2 separate regions of the Homo sapiens genome follow, and region 2 is linked to region 1. Evidence: promoter capture Hi-C in 16 types of primary human blood cells and fetal thymus (Javierre and others, 2016). All regions are on one chromosome and are shown on one strand. The core of a region is centred on a gene start or on the middle of the fragment in contact, and the rest is flanking DNA. Distances in the headings are between cores, read along the strand shown. Region 1 holds the start of ARHGAP10 (Rho GTPase activating protein 10). Region 2 overlaps SLC10A7 (solute carrier family 10 member 7).

Region 1 (7,032 bases), core at 1,147-3,646:
AAATTTAAATTGTTTTCGGCCAGGCTCGGCGGCTCACTCCCATAACTCCAGCAATTTGGGAGACCAAGGTGGGAGCATCATTTGAACTAAGGAGTTTGAGAAAAGCCTGGGCAACATAGTGAGACCCTATCTCTATGAAAAATAAAAATATTAATAATTTTCATCACCCTGAAAATAAACTCCTGACTACATATACCCTCCACTCTATCCCCCAGTCTCTAGCAACCACTAATCTTTCTGCCTCTATAGATTTACCTGTTTTGGACATTTAATATAAGTAGATAGTATTGGCCTTTTGCAGCTAGGTTCTTTTACTTAGTATAACGTTTTCACCGTTATTGTGCCGTAGCACGTGTCAGTACTTCATTCCTTTTTATTGTAGATTAATATTTCATTTTATGGACAAACATTTTGTGCATCCATTACACAGCTGACAAAGGACATTTTGGTTGATTCTACTTTTTGGCTATTACGAATAATGCTGCTATGAATATTTGTGTGTAAATATTTGCGTGGACATATATTTTCATTTCTTTTGGGTATATATCTAAGCGTGGACTTGCTGGGTCACACGGTAACCTCCATGTTCAATATTGAAGAAGTCTCAGCAGCCCCTCTATGAGAAAAGGTTTGGGTTTCTGCTCTGAGGATTGAGTGTGGTCAGTGCTTGGCTGTTTCGCTAGGCCCTCATTTTTGTTTACACCCCCTCTCTTCTTGTCTTTCTTCCCCTTTATTTGCCTCTTTTATTCTCTTTTCTGTAGACTCCAGTCTCCTGCTGGTTTTAGTAGGAACTGAAGCTTTCACCGCCTAAAAGTTATTTGTAAAACACTTTGAACTCTCTGGAGGATGGACATTAGAGTAATAATGTTTATCTGTGGGTTAGGCACTCCTGGTGCTGTTTTGTAACAAAAGGGCTTATTGAGTAGGAGGCTTATTTAACTTGTTCGGGAGGGTTACCCTCCTACAACATGCTGTCCAAACAGATTCTTAATTACCCAGCTGAGAGTCTGAACGTCTTGAGGAATTACTTTGAAGTTTCTCGTTAATATTACCATCATATCATGTAAGTCTATATCGCGAGTTTGTAGATGTATGGAGTTCCTAGTGGGTGCCCGGCACATAATAATTGCTTAATAAATTGCGATTATGAAACGTTACTCTAATGAACTATTAGTGTTTTTTTTTAAGAAATACTTTTTTTTTTTTTTGAGACATTGTCTCGCTCTGTCGCCCAGGCTGGAGTGCAGTGGCACCATCACGACTCACTGCAACCTCCGCCTCCTGGGTTCAAGCGATTCTCCTGCCTCAGCTGGGACTACAGGCACGTGCCACCGCACCCGGGTACTTTTTGTATTTTAAGTAGAGACGGGGTTTCACCATGTTAGCCAGCTGGTCTCCAACTCCTGACCTCAGGTGATCTACCCGCCTCCGTCTCCCAAAGTGTTGGGATTACAGGCGTGAGCCACCACGTCCGGCCTAAGGTATACATTTTAATACTTTAAAATGCCTAACTTTTTTTGGGACACACTGGAGTTGTTTCATAACACACAAAATAGGCTTTTTGAGGGCACTGACATAAATTCTCATTGATCGTCACCCCCACGCGGTGAAAACCACACGTTACCTGGCATGTTTTCCGGTAGTTATTTTTAGAATAATAAAGATCGTCTTCACCTACCCCAGCAAATTTAATGTGCTGAACACAACAGAAACAACTTTTCTGTGGTTTAGCCAGCCCTCTCTCTTCAACTAAGTTATTTAGTGCGGATACGCAGAGAAGTGTAATAGGAGCTGCTGGGCCACCAAGAAAACGCTCTTGCCATTGTAAGGCTTCGATCTCAAGCGGAGATTTACCACGCATCTCACTTTAAACTGGGAAAGGAACCGGGATAAGGAAAAGAGCCCCCTGTGCGAGTTCGTTCCCAGCTCGGGGTTGGGGGCGTCCCAGGATAAATGAGATAAATGAGTTAATCATCTCCTGCAAGGCAGCCACTTCAGAGTTATGTCGCCCGCCTGCGGGGACTAACGACTGCAATTAAGACGCTCCTTCTCGGTCCCGGTCGGGTTCCGTGCAGCGGGGAGCCGACTGTGAGTCACCCCGGCCCCGGGAGCCCAAGCAAAGGGGAGGGGAGAGCGCCCAGGGTGGAGGGGAGCCGCGGGGCGAAATTCTAGCCCCAGGACGCCTCGGAAGGAAGAGGAGGGGCAGCTGCGCGTGGGGAAGAGAAGGAAGAGGCGTCCAGGGAAGGGAAGGGAGGAAGAAGGAAGGCGGAGGAAAGAGAAGGGGACGAGCGGGAGCGCGGGCCCGGCCGGGTGGCGCCTCGGGGAGTGTCTGCCGCGCGGGGGCCGGGCGGGGCGGGGCCGCGGGCGCTCAGAGCTCGGCGGGGGCTGCCGGGATTGGGGCGCCGCAGCTAGCGCTGGTCTCGGTGGCAGCTCCTCCGCGCCGCAGGACTCGGCTCTACGGGACATGTCCGTGCCGCGCTCGCCGCGCGCCCGGGCCTGCTAGCTCCTCTGTGCTCCCTGAACGCGCGGCGCCGCACCTGGCAGCGGCCTCGGAGCTCGGCTCGGGCAGGAGCGCGCGGCCGTGCGCACCGCGCAGCGACCGCTGCCGTCATGGGGCTGCAGCCCCTGGAGTTCAGCGACTGCTACCTCGACAGCCCGTGGTTCCGGGAGAGGATCCGCGCTCACGAAGCGGAACTCGAGAGGACCAACAAGTTCATCAAAGAGCTCATTAAGGACGGGAAGAACCTCATCGCTGCGACGAAAAGTAAGCGGGGACGCGGGCGCGGACGGGCTGCGGCGTGGCGAGGCGGCTGGGGGAGCCTCTCTCGGCAGGAGACGGAGGGTCTTGTGTCCGGGGCCAGCAGCCAGAGGAACGGGGAATTCATTCCGGACCAGCCCAGCTCTCTCGGAACCCCGGGGGGTCCCTGGAATCATTCCTCCTCGAGGCAGCGCGGCGAGTCCCCATTCCCGCCCCTGCGGCTCTGCGGCGGCGGGAACCAGCTGCCAGCGGGCCCCGCCTGGGCCCCGCCTGGCCCCGGCCGAACACCCCTCGCTGAATGCGCGCTCCGCTGGACCGACCCTAGGCACTCCTGGCCCGGAGTCAGGTTTCATTGCTGCCTAAAGCTACTCACAATCTCTTACAAAACCGAGGCATCTGTTTGCCTAGTTTTGTTTTGTGACTTCTCAAAAGAAATTTCTTGGGGATTCTTTGAAACCCTGCGGGAGTGTTGAGTTTTCCAGAGTCCCCTTAAGCTTCACCTTTTCCCTCTCATTGTCTGATCTTCCCCGACAGTCCTGTTCCAGGTCCTTCACGTGCCAAACCAGAAAGTCCACCTGGCTTTATGCTGCTTCCGCACATTCCTCCCCTGCCGTGCTGAGGAGGGTTCAAAGATTGGGGTTTGGAAGGGTGAGCGGACAGCCTGCCCTCTAGCCTAGGCGGGCACTGCTTGCAAATAGGGAATTCCACCCCGGTTAGGCTTGGTGCCTTCCTCCCCTGAACTTCTGTCTCTTAAACTCGGAAGAAGACACGAGATACAGGAGAGATAACTGTATTTTAGTGTAGTTGAGGAGAGTCTTTCTAGGAGAGAAGGGGCCAAAATTCATGCAGAAATACTGAGTTAGTGATGCTACTGGAAAATGGGGCGGAATTAGCCCCAGTGAGGAGCTGGGCAGCCTGACCATCCCTTGGATCCATAACCCCTTCGGAGGATGGCGGTGAATGTCCCCTTTCCCCCTTTAAAAGACCTGTCCATACAGCAGACAGGGACTTGGGCAGTATCCAGCCTTGAGGGGCTGGGTTCTTAGGGCCTTCATCACTCACCTAGATTCTCAGTTCAGTAATTCTCAGCCTTAGGTATTCGTCCCTTGTACATTTGTTTGTAGATACCACCTCTGGGGAAAATCCCCCATCTCACTGTTCTCCCGACCGCGCCCCGCCCCATTTTTCAGTAAGGGCGATTAAAACATATTGATTATACTGTCTCGGGCACCCAGCATGGTGCCTGGTACAGTAAATATGCATTTAATGAATAAGTTGAAGTACATTTCTGTGGGAAGAATTTAGTGAGCCATCCCTGTAATTTTGGAGGCAAGTCACTCAACTTCTCTGGATGATCTCCAAGGTTCCTTTTGGTTCTCTGACCTCTTTGGTGTTGCAAAATCAGGACTGGGACTCACTTAGGGTTTTTTTGTTTTGTTTTTAAGTCTCTGCTGCTTGAATCAGAAATGGGACTCTGGGACATGTGACAAGTGGGCTTATTTGGTTGAGGGCTCTCCAGGCCCTTGGCATCTGGTATGTGTGTTGGGTGGGAAGTAGGGGGGCGCCTATACATATGGAGGAGTGAGCATAGAAAGGAGGAGTTGGGAGCGGGGGTGCAGAGTGAACACGAGAGAATGAGGACTGAGGACTCTTTCTGTAACTTGATGTTAACCAGAGTCAGTGGCCGGGAGAATGTACCTTCTCTCTCATTGGTTGTAGTAGTTCCCTCTGGAGCTAGAGAGGTGTGGAGAGAGGCAGAGGGCAAAGCCAGTTTGGCCACTGGTAGAAAGCTATTTCTGTGACAGCATATTAGCTTTCCTGCCATCAGGACACATGCGTTAGGTTCCAGCAGCAGCCAGTGCATCTGGGGGGCCAGATGTCAGCTTTCCTCCAGACTGTAGACTTTCTTGAATTTGTGAATTAGTATCTTACTCATTTTGATTCTCGTCCTTTAGCATAAGAAACATAACTTGTAATCATGCTTTGAGAGTAATTGGGAAGTGTCTTTTTTTCTCGTTATGTTCATTAAGAATTTATGTTTAAATTCTTTCCCAGAAGGTGACAGGAACACAGCTGTAGCTCACATGCCTTTTCCCGCTTGCTCCATAAAGTTTACTTCTAGTTCCTATCAAAGACTAAGAGCCTTGGACTAAAGTCAGGGGACCTGAATTTAATTCTTCTTCACTGGTTAGGGCGTGGCTATAGGAAAATTGAGCAGGTCTTATTCTTTTGCGTCCAACTTCCCCTGTCTACCTCTTAGGGGAACTAATAAGGTTCTGCAGCATTTGAAAATGGCTTGATGAGGTTATTTGAAACTGCAGTCTAGGTAAATGGTTCATCTAACCAGTTGAGCTTTTGTATAACATCAGAGAGTCAAGGGATGACATTGGGTGGAGGATCTACAGAAAGAATAAAACCCACTAGGTCAGATTATTTATATTTCCAGATATTTTATATTTTATTTTACAAAAATGACCTTTTGAGCATTTCGAGAAGTGTGTATTTAAGTGATTTCTATTTTTAATTGCCCTGCACGGTGTCTCCTGTTTGCATTACATTCTTGGAAGATTTCAATATGTAATTTTGATGGCTTGATGCTTTGAAGTCTTCCATAAATATTTAGAGTTTTGAGGCCTATGCGACCTGAAGGCTTACTGCTGAATTCAATTAGGTAGCAATCTGCAAATATTTAGCACCTATAATTTGCTAAATACTGGAATTAGATACGGATTTATAATGGGGTAGAGGCCCTTGCCCTTGAGTTTACTGTCCTGTAGTTGAAATTACTTCAATCTAAGGAACATTTTTGAACTCCTTCCTGCACTGTGCTAAATTCTTGAAGAAACAAAGGATATAGACACATACCTGTGACAAGGTTAAACATTTAGTGACAAGTATTCTAACTTTTCCAGGGACAAGGGTTTGTATGTTAGAGTGGAGGAGGTTTGTGAAAGTTTTGGAACTCACTGGTGATAAGGAGTAGAACCTTATCATATTGGAAACCAGAAGAAACCAGAACACTCGAGTGTTTGAAGAGACTAGTTTGGCTGGAATGGTGGTTTTTCAGGGAGTAGTAGACTGGGATGGATGGAGAGGTCAGTTTTAGATTATGGAGGGCCATAAAAACAAGGTTAGGAATGTGGACTTTATCTTGTGGAGAGTTACTGAAGGCTTTTCAGCAGAAGGCTGACATAATAGCAAAGAGATGGTTTAGAGACAGTATCGCACATTTGTGTGTAGGGTGAAGTTGGGGATAGCGCTAGGGGTGGGGAGGAACTCCAGAGAGAAGAGCCAGTCATTTTAGTGGTGGATTTGGAGATTATTCACTCAATTCAATGAATTCTTTGTTCAAATGGCTTTTTTAGTTTTCTTTTTAAAGTACTTTCTTTTCTTAAAATAACCAGTGTCTTCTTTAAATGCAGTTTAAACTTTTGTAAGCCTTCGTGATGTCTATGTAGTTTCAGTTGCTTATGATTCATACAGGTAGATAGCACAGTTGCCAGAAACAGCAATAAACCATATATGCTTTTCTCATAAATTTTACGTTAGGCAGTCTTGAGAAAATGTATCTTGTTCTTTAGAGAAAATTTTTTAAAACTAACAGTCCTTACAGTTATTAAGCACTAATACAGTGATATAAAATGCTCTGTAGTGAACTTAAATTGTCTAGCTGTGTGTGTGTGTGTGTGTGTGTGTGTGTGTGTGAAGCTAAAGGGGCCCTCATTAATGAGTCTGCTGTTACTAAACATGCATGGAAAAGGATGTAAAGGGCCTTGTTAGTGGCAGAGCCTGGACAAGAATTTAGGTCTTCCGACTTGGTTTTGGTACTTCTAGCCTTGGCATTTTAATGGTTTTTGCTTTGTTCCTCTTAGGAAAAACATAAAAGTTCTCTTTGGCTGTCTTTATGTTTACTGTTTCAGAGAAATATTCTTTTGGGGAAATTTCTTAAGTTGCCATTACATTAAACCCACTGAGATTTGGAAGACTAAAAATAATTTTCCTATTTTGTAAACTTGAGCCTTGGTTTCCTTTTTTTTTGTAAAATGGGACTGATACAGAAAGCCTTGAGGAATAAATAAAATGGTGTGAAAGTGTTTTGAAACACAAATGTAAAATGGTTGTGTAGACACTACTGCTGGTTCAGCCAACATTCCTTTTCCCCTCTGACAATCCAGATTTCATTCAAGTGTCTGCATCCTTTTCAGATGACTCAGGGGAAGGCATTTCAGGGTAATTCTGATTAATCTAACTCAGTGGTTCTCAATCGTAGCTGC
Region 2 (7,032 bases), core at 1,800-4,299, 1.4 Mb before region 1:
TACTTATTTCACTTTTAGTGCTAATCTGATTGAGTTAATGATAACTATATTGTTTCTTTATAGAAATAACATTCAGAAATAAGCATCAAACTAATGTCAATATCAAATTAGAGTAATAACATTATTCCCACCTTGCTCTGAGCTGCTGGAAAATAAGTTAATCTTTTCCAGGGACAACTCTAGGGCCTGCCAAAGCAATGTTTTTGCCAATTCCCTATTTAGAAGTAGTTTCCACAGCATCTCCACCCCTGCTCTAATGTTACATTCTACATTGGTAATCTTGTATGAGAATTGAAAATATGATTATAAATTAAGCTAAGTTTTACAGTGTTAATTTTGGCCCACAGAGATTTGTTCAATCAAATAACAGAATTTCAAAGCAATGACCCACCCTCACTTTGCTACTGTTCCTTATCTAATAGTGTGGACAACACCCCATTCCATTTAATTTGAAGAGTTCTTTGAATATCAAAGTCATAAGATGTAACTATATGAGGGTAATAGGTGGTTTTTAACTCTGTGAATCACTTACCCAATGTAAGGGATTTGTGTGTAGAACAGAAAATGATAGCCACTGTGTCTGCTGGTGTGAAACCCGAATTATTCCTAGGGGCAAAAAAAGATTTTGACAAATACTTTTATAAAAAGCCAATTTAACACATTCAAAATCAAATGTAGTACCTACCTTTATGTTAACATCCCTTTGATCAATCCTGGTGACAGTAGTAATTCTACACCCAAATGTACAGAAGTGTCTGGATTTCTTTTTAGAGAACTACTTCTGAGTCATTTATCCATGAAAAGGAGAACAGTTGTAAAAATGTGTGGTGGAGGTCGCCTAAGATCACGTATATAATCAGCCCCTGGAGCAGGACTGATTATAAAAATAATGCAACAAGGAACTCTAAGTCTCTAGGTTACCACTTGAAATTTACCCAGTGGCTTGAAAGGATAAATATATCTCTAAAAATGCTCTTTTCAAGGAGCAACACATCCTTTTGGTAGCAAACACACACTTAAGAATACAGGGTATGAAAAAAGATTTAACATCATATATTTTAGTAAAAACAAATTATCATTTTTTGAGCAGTATCATGTATAGGCATTTCTCTAATGTCTTTACATGTAAAAGCAACAACCCCAAAAGGCAAGTGATGTAATGTTCCTATTTACAGATGAGAAAACTGAGGCACACAGAAGTGTATAATGTACTCAGGGCCCATGGTAGTAAGTGACAGAGCCAGGATTCAAACAGAGTCTAGTTCCCAGGCCTGTGTTCTTAATTACTATATTCTACTATTGTTATATACTATGTTAAACATTAAAAAAAACCTCACTGAGTCAAAACTAATTAAATGTTGTGGGGAGTCAGTACTGGGAATTGGATGTCATAATCAGATTTCCTGTTTTAGATAATAAGGGTTTAGAAAGCCAAAAAAGTTAAAAATGTCATTGTTATGATTGTGCCCTTATATTTTAGAAACTATTCTTTCCTGTGGAGTCAGGATATCAGGATTTGACTATATAGAGTCTATTCATTCCCTGCTCTGAACTCTGACAGAAGAGTTAGCAAATGGAAAAATGTTCTAGAAACTGACTCCATCTATACAGTTGCAGATATAACAATGTACCTGATTTTTAAGGCTCCCTAATGAAAGAGACCCAATCATTTCCCTTAGTAATCTCATCCCCATGCACGACTTTTGCTGGGAGAAAACTCTTCCCTAAATAGATCCCACATCCTGTTTTTCTTGTTGTATACCCACAGGAGGAGAGAAGAGTCCCCTCAACTCCCCGCCGGGTTCCCCCATCACCCCACCCTGCTTCCTCATCCCCTGTGCCTGTGTCAAGAGAATATTTAAAATGGCCTTTGGTCTCTCTTCTGAAAAGGCATGCATGTTTCTGCTTCCTAACCAGTTGTACTTCTAAGCTGTTTCTTGGTAACTTTCAAACTGAATTTTTGGTGTCTCACTTCAGTTGAGGATTCCCCATGGATGCATATCATATACTCTTATTGAGTATAATAAGACTGGCTTAATTGTTTCTACATTTTATTCTCATATTGATATTGTAATAGCATTCTTGTTTTTTAAACATTGCATTACATGGCTTTCATATTTCTTCATCCCTTTATTCCTCACAGTAGGCCTAATGGGGAAGGAGTTCCATAAGGTTCCGTAAATGCATGGGCTGAGAGATGAAAGCACTACAGACATACATGAGAAAGAGGAGAGGAGAGAGAAATAGAGTGCTTTCAGCTGAAAGAGAAGGATCACCTCTAGCTTGGCAGGGAAAGTAGGAGATGATGATAGAGCACAAATAACCTTCTGGGAAAAAATAACAATTGAGCTGAGCCTTAAAGAATAGATTTAGATATGTGCAGATGTGTGTTTTAGATAGGGGACAGTGAGACTGCAGTATGGGAGTGTAGGGGGCAGTTGGCAAAGAACAGATTCTTCAGGCTGACTTGTGTGCAGGGACACTGGCTTATGATCAGGAGTATGGAGTTGATATGATGGGATAAGGGGAACTGCTGAAGGAGTTGGGACAGTAGAATGACATAAGTAGATCCATTCTTAAGGAGAAGTGATCACACAGCATGGTGTAAGACTAAAGATGGTGAGGCTGGGCAGGAAGCAGGGAGCTCTAAGGGTCTAAAGAATCAGAGTGAAAACAGGAGATGGTGGAAAGAGACATGGAGATAGGATGAAAAGAATTTCTGTTAACTTCTGTGCAACAGTACCTCCCAACAGCTCAAGAGTGCAGGCTTTTGGAGCAAACACACCTGATTTTAATTCCAGGCCATCCTTTTTCTCATATGTAGAATGAGTATAAGACCTTCTGACTCTTAGGATCAATTGTGGGGATAAATGCCAGTGCTTGTTAAGAATGTGGCACAATGTAAATGTTGAACACAAGCTAGGGGATATTGATATTATTATTATTGCTTTGAGAGAGAAGGAAGAACCAAAGAGAAATTAGAAATTTTGAGTATATGGAACCAAGAGGAGCATTAAGGAAACAGAATTAAAGAGGAGGCTCAGTGAGCCTTGGGAAGGAGGCCAAGGAGTTGATGCTGATGTATGCTAGATTTGTAGTGGTGAGAAGGACTGAGTTTGTAGTGGTAAAAAGGACTGTGTTTGGAGTGGTGAGAAAGACTGTGTTTGGAGTGGTGAAAAGGACTGAATTTGGAGTGGTGAGAAGGACTGAACTTGGAGAGGTGAGAAAGACTGAATTTGGAGTGGTGAGAAGGACTGAGTTTGGAGTGGTGAGAAGGACTGTGTTTTGAGTGGTGAGAAGGACTGAGTTTGGAGTGGTGAGAAGGACTGTGTTTGGAGTGGTGAAAAGGACTGTGTTTGGAGTGGTGAGAAGGACTGTGTTTGGAGTGGTGAAAAGGACTGTGTTTGGAGTGGTGAGAAGGACTCTGGAGTGGTGAGAAGGACTGAGTTTGGAGTGGTGAGAAGGACTGTGTTTGGATTGGTGAGAAGGACTGAGTTTGGAGTGGTGAGAAGGACGGAGTTTGGAGTGGTGAGAAGGACCGTGTTTGGAGTGGTGAGAAGGACCGTGTTTGGAGTGGTGAGAAGGATCATGTTTGGAGTGGTGAGAAGGACCGTGTTTGGAGTGGTGAGAAGGACTGAGTTTGGAGTGGTGAGAAGGACTGTGTTTGGAGTGGTGAGAAGGACTGTGTTTGGAGTGGTGAGAAGGACTGAGTTTGGAGTGGTGAGAAGGACTGTGTTTGGAGTGGTGAGAAGGACTGTGTTTGGAGTGGTGAGAAGGACTCTGGAGTGGTGAGAAGGACTGAGTTTGGAGTGGTGAGAAGGACTGAGTTTGGAGTGGTGAGAAGGACTGTGTTTGGAGTGGTGAGAAGGACTGTGTTTGGAGTGGTGAGAAGGACTGTGTTTCGAGTGGTGAGAAGGACCGAGTCTGGAGTGGTGAGAAGGACCGTGTCTGGAGTGGTGAGAAGGACCGTGTCTGGAGTGGTGAGAAGGACCGTGTCTGGAGTGGTGAGAAGGACCGTGTCTGGAGTGGTGAGGAGGACTGTGTCTGGAGTGGTGAGAAGGACTGAGTTTGGAGTGGTGAGAAGGACTGTGTTTGGAGTGGTGAGAAGGACTGTGTTTGGAGTGGTGAGGGCTTGTGTTTGCAGTGGTGAGAAGGACTGTTTGGAGTGATGAGAAGGACTGTGTTTGGAGTGGTGAGAAGGACTGTGTTTGGAATGGTGAGAAGGACTGCGTTTGGAGTGGTGAGAAGGACTGAACTTGGAGAGTTGAGAAAGACTGAACTTGGAGTGGTGAGAAGGACTGAGTTTGGAGTGGTGAGAAGGACTGTGTTTGGAGTGGTGAGAAGGACTGTGTTTGGAGTGGTGAGAAGGACTGAGTTTAGAGTGGTGAGAGGGACTGAGTTTGGAGTGGTGAGAAGGACTGTGTTTCGAGTGGTGAGAAGGACCGAGTCTGGAGTGGTGAGAAGGACCGTGTCTGGAGTGGTGAGAAGGACCGTGTCTGGAGTGGTGAGAAGGACTGTGTCTGGAGTGGTGAGAACGACTGAGTTTGGACTGGTGAGAAGGACCGTCTTTGGAGTGGTAAGGACTGTGTTTTCAAGAAATCTGGCAAAGGGAAGAAAAAGGTCACAGGATATTTGACTATGATTATAAAGAGAAAGTGAAGACACGGCAGAGAGAAATACCTGATGAACATAGGTCCCAAAGAGGCCTGAGAAGCCAAGAATAAAGAAGTTATCTGGAGCAGGGCATTTCCTAACATATCTGAGCTGGAAGCAAAAGTGAACAAGGGGAGTGAAAAATATGGAGATTTTTCAGGTAGAGAACGGGCAAGCAGAGGCAAGTTATGTCAGAGATTTTACTTTCTTTGTAAAGTGTGAGCCAACTTTGAGTTAATTCCAAGGCCTGGGAATCAAATACATTAGAAAAGTTTGAAATTGGCAGATTGGAGAATATGAATTACAGTCAATTAACAATGAATAAAAAAACTTCCATGCAGGAGTGAGTGCCCTCCAGTGATTGTAGAACATGTAATGTGATCAGCTGTCCTAGGTAGGGGATGTTGTCCAGCAACGTTTGTGGTGTTAGGAGCACTTCAAAAACTTTGTCTTTTGTGGCCCTTGTTTATATCAGCCATGGCTGCATCTGGGTTTATGCATTTGGTTTTCTTCCTAGAGTCTTGCACTACACTTTTCCTTTAGTAAACTGTGTTCGGCTTGATATCTTGTTCTTTTCAAGGTTACAGCACATTTCCAGTGTGTCACAGTCTCTCTGGTCAAGGAGGCTCTGAATTAATCTGGCGCTGGCTGCTGCTCACTAGAGCAGCATTCACAATGTGGCTAAAGAGGATATTTGCAAGATACGCTTACTTGTCCTCTGTTTCAGGTAAGGAGGCTAAAGCTAGGGCCACACTGGGAGATTTCTGGCTCATTGCTCTCAGTAACACTGCTCTACAGTCTTATCGACAAAAAGTCCATGAGTGGGAAGGAGGATTAGAACCTTAAGGCATAAAAAGGGAACATTTAAGGTTAAAAACAATATTCCTCCTCAATAGGGTTGACTTGTACTCTAGCTATGTAGGACTGGAGCGCTGTATCGGGGAAAGCTGATAGAGCAGATGCTCACTTAACCCTCTCTTCAGGAGGGTGGTAAATTACCACAGCATAAGCATTATTGAGCATTTTTCTAAGCACGTTGCAGCCAGTATTACTTCCTTCTCAGAAAAGCCATACAAACAGATAGTGTTATTGCTCTGCTTTTTCCAAAAACGGAACTGGAAACACAAGTAGGTTAAGCAACTCCCCTAAAGTCACACAACTAGTAAGTTGGTTGCCCCAAACCTTGGTCATAAGTTTGCCCTTTTGAGAAAGACAATATTAAAACCAAAAACACTACAAAATGTAATGGGTGAGGGCAGCTATCTTGGTAAATAATCCACCCTTAGCCATACTCTGTCAAGGGGGACTTCATGGTACAAGGTCATGACAAGACCCAGAAAAATCAAGTGTCCTGTACATCATATTTGAGTAGTAATGACTAAAATTATTCTCACTGATTAACATCTCTATTGGGTCTGCTCACATTCTTGAAAGGAATCACATTACTATTTATTTTCTAACTCTACCTTATCTCTTTTTAATATTGATTTTCTTTTTATCCTGTTTTTAATGATTCTTTTGATCACTTTGCCTTCTCTTGAGATATTTATTTCCTTTTCTTCCCAACTGGTCTTTTTATTCTTTCTTACAAAGCTTTCAATCAGTGTTTTCCACATAATGTTTATTTTGCCTTCCTTTGCAGTACCCACAGAGGAAAACATGTCAGGTTTTACTAGTAGAATCACAGAATGTAGAACAGAAAAGGTCCTTTGAGATACTTCTGTCTAAGCCCACTATTTTCAGAGGAGGAAACTTCCAAGTGAGGCCTCTTCTTTGTTAACCTCTGTACCTGTGTTTTGTCTCTGCTCGTTTTCAGAGAAGACCTCTTCCGTCATTAGCTGGGTGGCACTGAACAAGCTACCCAGGGTGCCAAGGCTTAGTTGCCTCCTCTGAAATGGTAAGAAAACTTACCATTAATGATCATCGCCATCTTCCTTGCCTGCTTCCCTTTCCCATTCTCCCATCCTGCTTCTCCCAGGGCTATGGTGAAAGGCAGATTGAGATATCTCACTGGAAATGTACTGATCAGAATTAAAACACATATACAAATATTTGTTTTCTTCCTTTTCCTTCATTAACAGTTTCTTTTGCCACTCTAATGACAATATAGGTTTCTGTTACTCTAGTTATCAGCCTACCAAACTTTTTAACTTTTTATATATTTTTAAAAGATTTCCAATTACTGCTTTCCTTTTCTAAGCTTTTTCAATGTATGTGTGTGTTGCTTATTTTTTTTTAAATTTGCAGTTTCCCAAAGTTGCAGAATGGTTAGGTCATTGGATAGCTGACTCTTGGCTTGATGAATCAACTCATTTCCTAGCAACTAGGACAGAGAAAAGTAAAAAGTAATGTATTACAAAGTAGCAAAGCTAATGCCCC

What was found. Contacts are between HindIII fragments. The CHiCAGO score rates a contact against its expected background, and 5 or more counts as called.
Region 2: a contact is called between a fragment that was not itself captured here and the fragment with the promoter of ARHGAP10 in region 1, in 1 of 17 cell types (M0 macrophages). The highest score is 7.1, in M0 macrophages.

Annotation. Positions count from the first base shown.
Region 1 is chr4:147,729,692-147,736,723 of GRCh38, forward strand. It overlaps ARHGAP10 (Rho GTPase activating protein 10), which reads left to right and starts at 2,397. Exons shown (of 23, transcript NM_024605.4): 1 at 2,397-2,764. The coding sequence starts at 2,611. RefSeq lists enhancers at 2,008-2,900, 2,901-3,793, 3,114-3,183, 4,312-4,441 and silencers at 2,094-2,613, 2,924-3,003. The HindIII fragment of the contact is 2,455 bases long and covers 796-3,250 here.
Region 2 is chr4:146,282,660-146,289,691 of GRCh38, forward strand. It overlaps SLC10A7 (solute carrier family 10 member 7), which reads right to left. Exons shown (of 12, transcript NM_001029998.6): 10 at 533-606. Among named protein-coding and RNA genes, the nearest start is that of REELD1, 72 kb to the left of the region's middle. The HindIII fragment of the contact is 6,389 bases long and covers 1-6,244 here.